Regions from separate parts of the Homo sapiens genome. Here region 2 is linked to region 1. The links are contacts of gene promoters, found by promoter capture Hi-C in blood cells and fetal thymus (Javierre and others, 2016). All regions are on one chromosome and are shown on one strand. The core of a region is centred on a gene start or on the middle of the fragment in contact, and the rest is flanking DNA. Distances in the headings are between cores, read along the strand shown. Region 1 holds the start of HMGA2-AS2 (HMGA2 antisense RNA 2). Region 2 overlaps MSRB3-AS1 (MSRB3 antisense RNA 1).

Evidence for each region. Contacts are between HindIII fragments. The CHiCAGO score rates a contact against its expected background, and 5 or more counts as called.
Region 2: a contact is called between a fragment that was not itself captured here and the fragment with the promoter of HMGA2-AS2 in region 1, in 1 of 17 cell types (M1 macrophages). The highest score is 5.2, in M1 macrophages.

What each region holds. Positions count from the first base shown.
Region 1 is chr12:65,946,135-65,950,589 of GRCh38, forward strand. HMGA2-AS2 (HMGA2 antisense RNA 2) reads right to left here and starts at 2,573. Exons shown (of 4, transcript NR_199060.1): 1 at 2,301-2,573; 2 at 1,630-1,990. The region is part of intron 3 of HMGA2 (high mobility group AT-hook 2); the gene reads left to right. The HindIII fragment of the contact is 7,270 bases long and covers 2,321-4,455 here.
Region 2 is chr12:65,559,704-65,564,055 of GRCh38, forward strand. The region is part of intron 2 of MSRB3-AS1 (MSRB3 antisense RNA 1); the gene reads right to left. It overlaps LOC105369808 (a long non-coding RNA gene), which reads left to right. Exons shown (of 4, transcript XR_945035.3): 3 at 1-26; 4 at 269-1,295. Among named protein-coding and RNA genes, the nearest start is that of LINC02454, 41 kb to the right of the region's middle. The HindIII fragment of the contact is 1,038 bases long and covers 953-1,990 here.

The DNA.
Region 1 (4,455 bases), core at 1,323-3,822:
TTAGGGTTTTTACATTCTTTATTAGTAAATAGCTAGAAGATCTGTCTTATACTATATTGCTATGAGAATGGAAAACAATCTACATGAAAAAAGATTATGCTATGGCACAGAAGTACCTATTGGTTGAACAATGGTCATATGATTTTAAAACAAAATCATATGATTTTAAAACAAAGTGGGCAAAATCACCTACTACTGCCTGGCAAGAAGCAAAGGATCTAATTATATTAAAATTCTGCTGCTTACATTAAACCCAGAGACTCATCTGCACAGACAGCCATGTGAAGGGCTTCTTTCTTTCTAAGGTCAACTTGAGACCCTTTACATAATAATCATGTTTGCTTTACCATACATTGTGCCTAATTTTTTTTTAAAAATTAAGTTTGTAAGCTCAATTCAAGCCTCTTTTTATTTAATGTTTAGATTAGTACTAAAATGAACTACTAATGTCTGGGTCCTTTGTTAGCAAGGATTTTCTTTCAATACCTACCAGAAGGAGTGGCTTAGCTGTCTGAGTATCAGCTTTAAAATACCTAGACTTCCTGGAACCATAGATTGTATTCTTAGGAGGGCTGAGGAACTTCTTAATTATTCTGAAATAGGTGGAATGGCAGACCATTTCCTACACAAGTGTCTCTCTACAAAATCTTAAAAATCCAAATACTCTGTGGATTTTAAAAATTCAGTAACTTTTTTTCTTCCATTTGGAGAAATGTTCATTTGCTGTATGACCTCAGAAATCCAAAAATATGTCCTTTCCTTTTGCTTATCTTCTACAGTTTCTTAGCATGTTGTACCCTAAGCTATTTGTATATACTTTAACAATGATATTTATTTGCTTAAGCATTATACTTTCAATTGTGGCTGAGCTAGTCCATTCTAAGGGCTAGACTGCAGAGAACTACTCACTGAAATCCATGTGGTTAGAAAGAGCCCTTTTAAGCTTCACGTGGTATGTTCAACTCATGGGGTCTTTGAATTCTCACCACTTTTTTTTTTTTTTGAGGCAGAGTCTTGCTCCGTCACCCAGGCGGGAGTGCAATGGTGTGATCATAGCTTACTGCAGCCATAACCTCCTAGGCTCAAGCAATCCTCCCACCTCAGTCTCCCGAGTAGCTGGGAGTACAGGCATGCGCCACTATACCTGGCTAATTATTTTTAATAGAGATGAAGTCTTGCTAGGTTGCCCAAGCTGGTCTCGAACTCGTGAGCTCAAACAATCCTCTCAAAGTGCTGAGATTACCGGCATGAGCCACCACACCCGGCCACAGTTTCGTTTTAACATCTGTTAATCCAAAAAATTTCTTCAAAGTCCTTTGGTGATTTTGTCAATGCTGCTATTGATGTTTTGTTCTGGGAGGAAGCTCTCTTTCACCCCATTGTATTTTAGAAGTTTCAATGCAACCATGGAATGAGGATTTTCATTACAAGCTTTTTGAAAGGTGCAATAGTCTCAACATAATGAACTCAAAATCTCAGTGCATTGAAGGGTTTGCATGCCAAGTTGACCAAGTGCCTAAACTGTATAAACTCCCTATGTGCACACTTAGAATTGGATCATCAGATTTGTCTAAACAACTTGAAAGGCTTTGCTATCTGTTCACTGAACAGTCATTATGATGTACACACCTTTAAGAGGGACTCAGCCCCTCCACAACTGATAATGAAGGAAGAATCTCCAAGTGAGGTGAGGCAGCTGGACTTTGCAGGTCTGACTCTTGTCCCCTGCGATTCACTTTTCATCAGCAACCTGGAGGAATCAGAACTAGGCCCTGCTGAACAATCTGGAGATGAAAATCAAAGCCGGGAAGTACAGCTTCTCCTGGATTGGATCTCGATTTGACTTTTTTCTTTTTTCTTTTTTTCAAGGAACAGACTGGGTTTCTTCAGAGCATTATATCAGGGATTAAGAGAATCAGTAGACTCGGGTTGTTTTGGTTTTAGAAAAAGATCTCAGACGATTATTTAAATTCCCTATGCCTTGGTTTCCCTGTGAGAAAATGAAAACAGTAAGGCCTGGACCCTCCCAGTAACAAAGGGGCAGATGTTAAAAATATAAAGGATTCTAGCTTTCATATAGGAAATGCATGTGCAAAATATTACTCATTTATTAAGGTGCATGAAAATTTACTGTTAACAACACAGAAGACTAATATGTATCATTGATGTTATTCAGGTCTTATAAAACTCTAGTGGCCAGTCGTGTTTTTAATGCCAAGAACCCCGAGGAGCAACTGGTTTCTAAGAATCAACACTTAGTTCTGAGCCGAGAGATGCCCCAAGGAAGATAAGAGACTTACAGTTTGTTTGGCGTCCAAAAAGCTTTCCAGACAGCAGTTTGTTTCCTTTCCCTTTTTATGAATGGTGGTAGTATTATGCTTCAGTCTGCGTTTTCTACCAAAGCCATTCATAAAAATAAAAACAAAACAAAATAACAACAACAAAAACTTTCTCGGCACAGTCTGGAGCCATTGGGTGCCAGAGGCTGGGAAAACATCCTGGCAGCCATAACCCCAACCAACATTGAAAGTATTCAAGGGTCTGTTTGTTTGGTGGTCTGAAAAGTATGAAGTGCTGTGTCTGAGGGTAGCTGGTAGAAGTTCCGTGACACGGACTAGGCCGGGAGCCAGGGCTGGCAGAGATTCAGACATTGTCTTTCCCCTCATTGAAGTGTCAGGACCTAATTCATGGAAAATTGGGTGAGCTGGCAGCTCTTTCAGAGGATTTCATTGAGCTGCAGTGTGCAGGAGTCACATGAATGCGGGAGCCTCTGCCAAAAAAGGAGGGGGATTTCTGAGCAGTAGGAACCAGTCAGCCTGCAAGAATGTATGTGGATTTGAAACGGTTTGGGAGTAAACATGTGTACAGGTGTAATCAACAGGGAAAAATGGGAGGAAGATGAGTGCTCTCTTCTTCCAAATGACCCTTTGGAAATGAATCCTCTATTAGCCCACGCTTTTGTGTCCTAAGAGGCAAGAAGTCCTCATCGTTCTTGGTTCGATTTTCCCTGGAGAAAACATCATCTCAAAACTTGGGCTTTTGTGATGACGTCATCTTTACTGTGATTTAAAGTCAAATGGAAGAACGTCTTTTCCTTTGAGCAAAAGTACCTTGCCATTTATTTTATTTTTATTCTGTCCATCTAAAAAAAAAAAGCTCTAATGATTTTTATATGGAATTTTTAATGTACCAGCAATAAACCACTGTACCACTGAGAGGAACTCTGAGAGGAAGGGGCTCTCAGAATGAATGAACAGGGGCTAGTGAATAGTGAACGTATCCTAAGTGCTGTTATTTGGGAGAACTGGTGCAAGAAAGCATGTCGCTATCCACATCAGAGTACCTCAGGTGTACTCACAAATCTCAGCGATGTGTAGATAGAATAATACATGCCTATATTCAGACATGAGAGTGAGGACTGGAAGCAAATAATCCATCGAAAAGCTCAGGCTTCAAATCCATCTTTTATAATGCCAAAGAAATAAGAAGTATTCTCTAATACTCGATTGGAAAGTTAGGCAGGCAGAAAAACATTCCCTCGGATGTTTCACTCAAAAGAGGAGAGTTTTGCTCTACACATACAATAGATACAGATATAACACAATATAACACAATATTCTTCCCATGATACCACGAAGAAACTGAACAAACTCACAGAATTATTTGCAAATCATAAGGGACTTGAATGCAAAACATTAAAAGAACTCTTACAACTTTGTTATGAAGAGATAGCAAATTTTTTTTAAATGGGCAAAGGATTTAAATAAACATTTCTTCCCAGGAGACATATAAATGGCCAATAAGCACATGAAAAGATGCTCAACATCATTAGTTGTGAGAGAAGTTCAAATTGAAACAGCAATGATGTTTAACTTCACATCCACTTGGATGTCTACAAGCAAAAAGACAGGCAATAACAAGCATTGGCATGTATACGGAGCAATTGGAACTCCAGATTCATTGCTGGTGGGACGGACTGCAAAATGGTACAGCTGCTTTAGAAAGCTGTCTGGCAGCTCCTCAAAAAGTGAAACAAAGAATTACAATATGAACCAGCGATTCCACTCCCAGGTACATACCCAAGAATGAAAACATGTTCGCACGAAAACGTGTATATAAATGTTCATAGTAGCATTATTCATAATAGCCAAAGGGTGGAAACACCCCAGATGTCCACCAACTAATGAATGGATAGGTAAAATGTGGTATACCCATACAAGGGAAAATTATTTAGCATGAAAAGGAATGAACTGCTGATGCTACCACATGGATGACCCTAGAAAACCCTAGGCCAGTGAAAGAAGCCACACACAAAAGACTCTACATATATAGTATGATTCCACTTACATGAAATGTCAGGATAGGTAAATTCATAGAGACAGAAAGTAGATTCATGGTCACTTAGGCATGGGAGGTGGCTAGGGACGTGGAGGGTAGTGGGGAGTAACCACTAAT
Region 2 (4,352 bases), core at 222-2,721, 390 kb before region 1:
GAGCAGCTTCTAGAATCACCAACCAAGTAAGTCTCATTGCTATCCCTATACACCAAGGTTTGCTATTTGCTACTCATTCACAACTGTTGAGTGTTTCCCATTCTTCTATGTTTTAAACTGAAAGTTTAAAAAAAATTCTTGGTTATCCCGTTTCTTCTTTACATTTGCATAATGGGGAGTGGGTGTTGGGAGATAGCTTGTCTTTGAGCTTTGGGCTTTTAGTAGCAATAGTTTTTTTTAACAATTAGCATTACCGTTACTATTTAAGACAGAAGATTTGTCAGAAGAACAAAGACCTCAAAATGAGAAGGAATGTGTTCTGGACTTAAAACATTGCTCAGGTATCTTAGCAAGGACTGAGACCTTGGAGGTCTCCAAATACCAGTAAGAATCATTGTGTTATCCTCTTTCTCACATGTTGGATTTTTTTTTTTTTTTTTACTTGTGATTGATGAACTGGGAGAAAGGAAGTGGTCTAGAAAGGGTGAGAGTGGGTGGGTAGATAGGATACAGGTGGCCTCACCTGGAGAGTGGTCACCTGTGAACAGAAGCCATGTTGAACTCCCTGCACTGCCTCTTCTTCTCTGTTCCTTGCAATGACCTTTAGCTGGACTCAGTCAAAACGGCGCTGTCCTTCCCCTTCCCAACCTAAAGCTTATAGTGCAGTTAATCTAGAGGTCAGCTGAAGTGCAGATTCAAGTGGCTCAAACCCCTTTGCAGTATAGGGAAGGAGTCTGGAATAGGGAAAGGATGGGTTGGGGGTGAAGATGGGAGTTGCTCATGGCTTCCCTAATTAGCTCTGATTCAGAGCTCAGACTTCTGTTATCATTTCCTACCCACAAGTGCTGTCTTATTCCTTTGGTTTCCTTCATTTCTATTCAGCCTCATGAAATAAAGAAATAAAGAAAACAAACAAGTAAATAAAAACAAGATCTTTATGGATGTGGCAGAAAGCTTTGCAAGCCAAGAAAGTCTTCTATCCAGGTGATGCAAATAACTGTAAAACTTCAGACTTCTTGAACTACAAAGATGAACTCTGCCAACCCAAGTTCTAGTACTTCCTCTACTCCCAGCCTGACCCCCACTGTTTCTTGGTTTCCTCACTCCTTCTCTTTCTGTTTGACTCTTGAGAGTAATAAACTCAGCCAAGTCCTACTACTTGAGCCCATATTTAAATGCAGAACAATTTGGCCTTCAGTTTATTCTTCCCCCTTCTTCCAGACTCTGGTCTGATTTATCTTTTTATACTCTATAGCCTATTAGGGTTTTATAATAAAGGCTATCCTTCTCTAAGATTTCCAATGTAGCTATTATCCTTTAACCCTTCTGCACAGTTAACAAAACCAGTTGTTACTTTTTTTGGTGGGGGGTGGGGGTGGTTGTTTAGCATTTAGTGATTATTAAAATGACTACTGTTTCAGCAAAAAGTATTCATAAAAAAACTCAAAAAATTCAGAAAAGTACAAAGGAGAAATTGAATAATCTGTAGCATCTCAAACTCAGTATATGTCTAAGGACAGTCTCTGTTCTCCCCTGGTCTTATTCACGCCCTTCAAGCCCTTCTCTCTAATCAAGGAACAATTGGCTTGACTTTTCTAGCTTACCTCACTTAATTTTAGAGAAATATATATCCTGTTTGAGATCCAAAGAGGCATTTGTCAGCATTAAGGGTCTCCCTTATCTCCATCCATGCTCACAATATTTGGCAGGTATACTTCAGAGTTTGTGGTTTGGGATTATAGCTGTTTCCTCACTTCATTCATGATAGGGAGATGTTTTGTCCTTCTATTTTTGTTCCATTTATTGTTTTCATTGGATTTTTAGAAAGGGGAATGGCATAAGTGTTTTTACTCTGCTGTCTTTAACAAGAAGACTTACTTTTCAAAATAATTATTTGTCTGCTTTTAATTTTCTACTTCAAGAAAACGTTAAGGAAAGAATGTATAGCATTCTAGTTAATTTTCAGTTGCTTAGGTGCCTGATAAAGAGAAGCTTCCCTAAACAGCAGCCAGTTCTGTTCTGAAGATGGCCTTCCCATGGCACCAGTACCCTGGTTAGAATTTTCCCAGGGAGAGATGGCCTAGCTTCATGGGAGCTATCACCATAGATTGCCCATGCTGAGAGAACAGACCACAAACTACACCAGCTGCAGACACTTACACAGCACATGTAGGGAGAACAGAGGCTGATGCCCAAAGAACGAGAGGGATTGTACCTCAGCTGCACAGCAGCAGCAACCTGCAGAGAAAGACAACCTGCAAGTTTATACAGCCCTCCTCCTGCCTCCATGAGAACCTGACAGAGGCATTTGAACCAGAGCGACTCCATCTTGAATAGAGGCTGGGTAAAATAAGGCTGAGACCTACTGGGCTGCATTCCCAGGAGGTCAGGCATTCTTAGTCACAGGATGAGATAGGAGGTTGGCACAAGACACAGGTCGCAAAGACCCTGCTGATAAAACAGGATGTGGTAAAGAAGCCGGCCAAATCCCACTAAAACCAAGATGGTGATGAAAGTGACCTCTGGTCATCTACATTACTCATTATACGTTAACTATAATGCACTAGCTTGCTAAAAGACACTCTCACCAGCACCAGGACAGTTTACGAATGCCATGGTAACATTCGGAATTTACCCTACATAATCTAAAAAGGAGAGGGACCCTCAGTTTCGGGAAATCTCTGACCCCTTCCTGGAAAACTCATGAATAATCCACCCCTTGTTTATCAAATAATCAAGAAATAACTCTAAGTATACTCAATTGAGCAGCTTATACCACTGCTCTGGCTATAGAGTAGCCATTCTTTTGTTCCTTTACTTTCTTAATAAACTTGCTTTCACTTTACTGTATGGACTCACCCTGAATTCTCTCTTGCTTGAGGTCCAGGAACCCTGTCTTGGGGTCTGGATTGAGACTCCTTTCATTGAGAAAGGAGATTGAGACTAACAGATCCATAATTTCTCCATTACTTACACACTGTTTTGGGAAGAAGGAGGGAAGGGGAGATCTATAGAAAGTAGAGAATAGACTCTGATAGGGAGTTTCAGCATCAAATTGAGTGAAGGAAGCCCTCTTCCCCTTTTTTTCCACCCTGGAAGAGACTGTAACTTAGCAAGTTTATTTCCACCATTGGTGGAAATGAGAGCTTCAGAGCAAGATTAAATCAGTTACAGAAAATAAATAAGCTACTGTTTTTGTACATCTGATTTGTAAGGTGTTAATCTTGACCCTGCAACATCTGCGATTTTAGCTTCATCTTTCAGCAAAAGGCAGTCTGCTAGATGGAAAACTGTTCAGGACTGGGAGTTGACCTTCGGTTACTCCTGGCTCTGCCACTAACTAGCTGTGTGATATTGGTTAAGACACTTAGTCTTCTACTTCGAAATGTCATCAACTCTAAAATTACAAGGTTGGATCAGATCCATGATTTTCAAATGTTCATGGCTGCAGAGCCCTTTTGTTAAAACCTTACTTAGATGGCCAATATATAAAACAGATACCTCTGGCGTTTCCTCTGGCAAAGTGGGAAGTAGATGTCTGGGACCACATATGCTAGGAGGCCCCTTGGGCTCCCTGCAAAGTCCCTAAATCACCTCCACAGAGCCCTTCCCAGGTATGCACTTCAAAGACCAGTGAAGGCAATGATCTCTCTGGTCCTTTTTGATTGTAATCCCCAATGATTCAATATATGCCCAAGGCCAGGGGTGGTTGACAGCAGCATGAAGTAATCTGTTCCATGGTCCATGGGCATCTAAGGAGATTGGCGTTAGCTTGTCCTTTTGCAGACAAGGCAATTTACCTTAGTGTTAAAACAACAAAAAAAACCTCCAGCACTTCATGGTGGTTGGGGGTTCTCTTATTTACAACCAAAGAAGAAGAAGAAGAAGAATAAGGAGGAGGAGGAGGACGAGGAGGAGGAGGAGGGGAGGAGGAGGAGGGGGAGGAGGAGGAGGAGGAAGAAGAAGAAGAGGAAGAGGAAGAGGAAGAAGAAGAAGAAGAAGAAGAGGAAGCAGCAGCAGCAGAAGCAGCAGCAGCAGCAGCAGCAGCTTGAGGTAACCATGAACTAGAAATTGTGTCCCCATTATATGACTAACATAGCAGAGTCAGGTCCTGGATCCACCATTTAGTATGCCAGGTAGAGTGTATGTCACCTCATTAGTCCTCACAACAACCCAAGAGGTATGATCCTCATTTTACAGATAAGAACGCTATATAGCAGGTTAAGGAACTTGCTCAAATATCACACTATTACAGAGAATTGTGACTTTTAAAAAAAACATTTACTCCCTCCTAAATGAGATGCTCAAATTTATAATCAGTTACCAAAGCCGTGGAAATTTCTCATCTCACA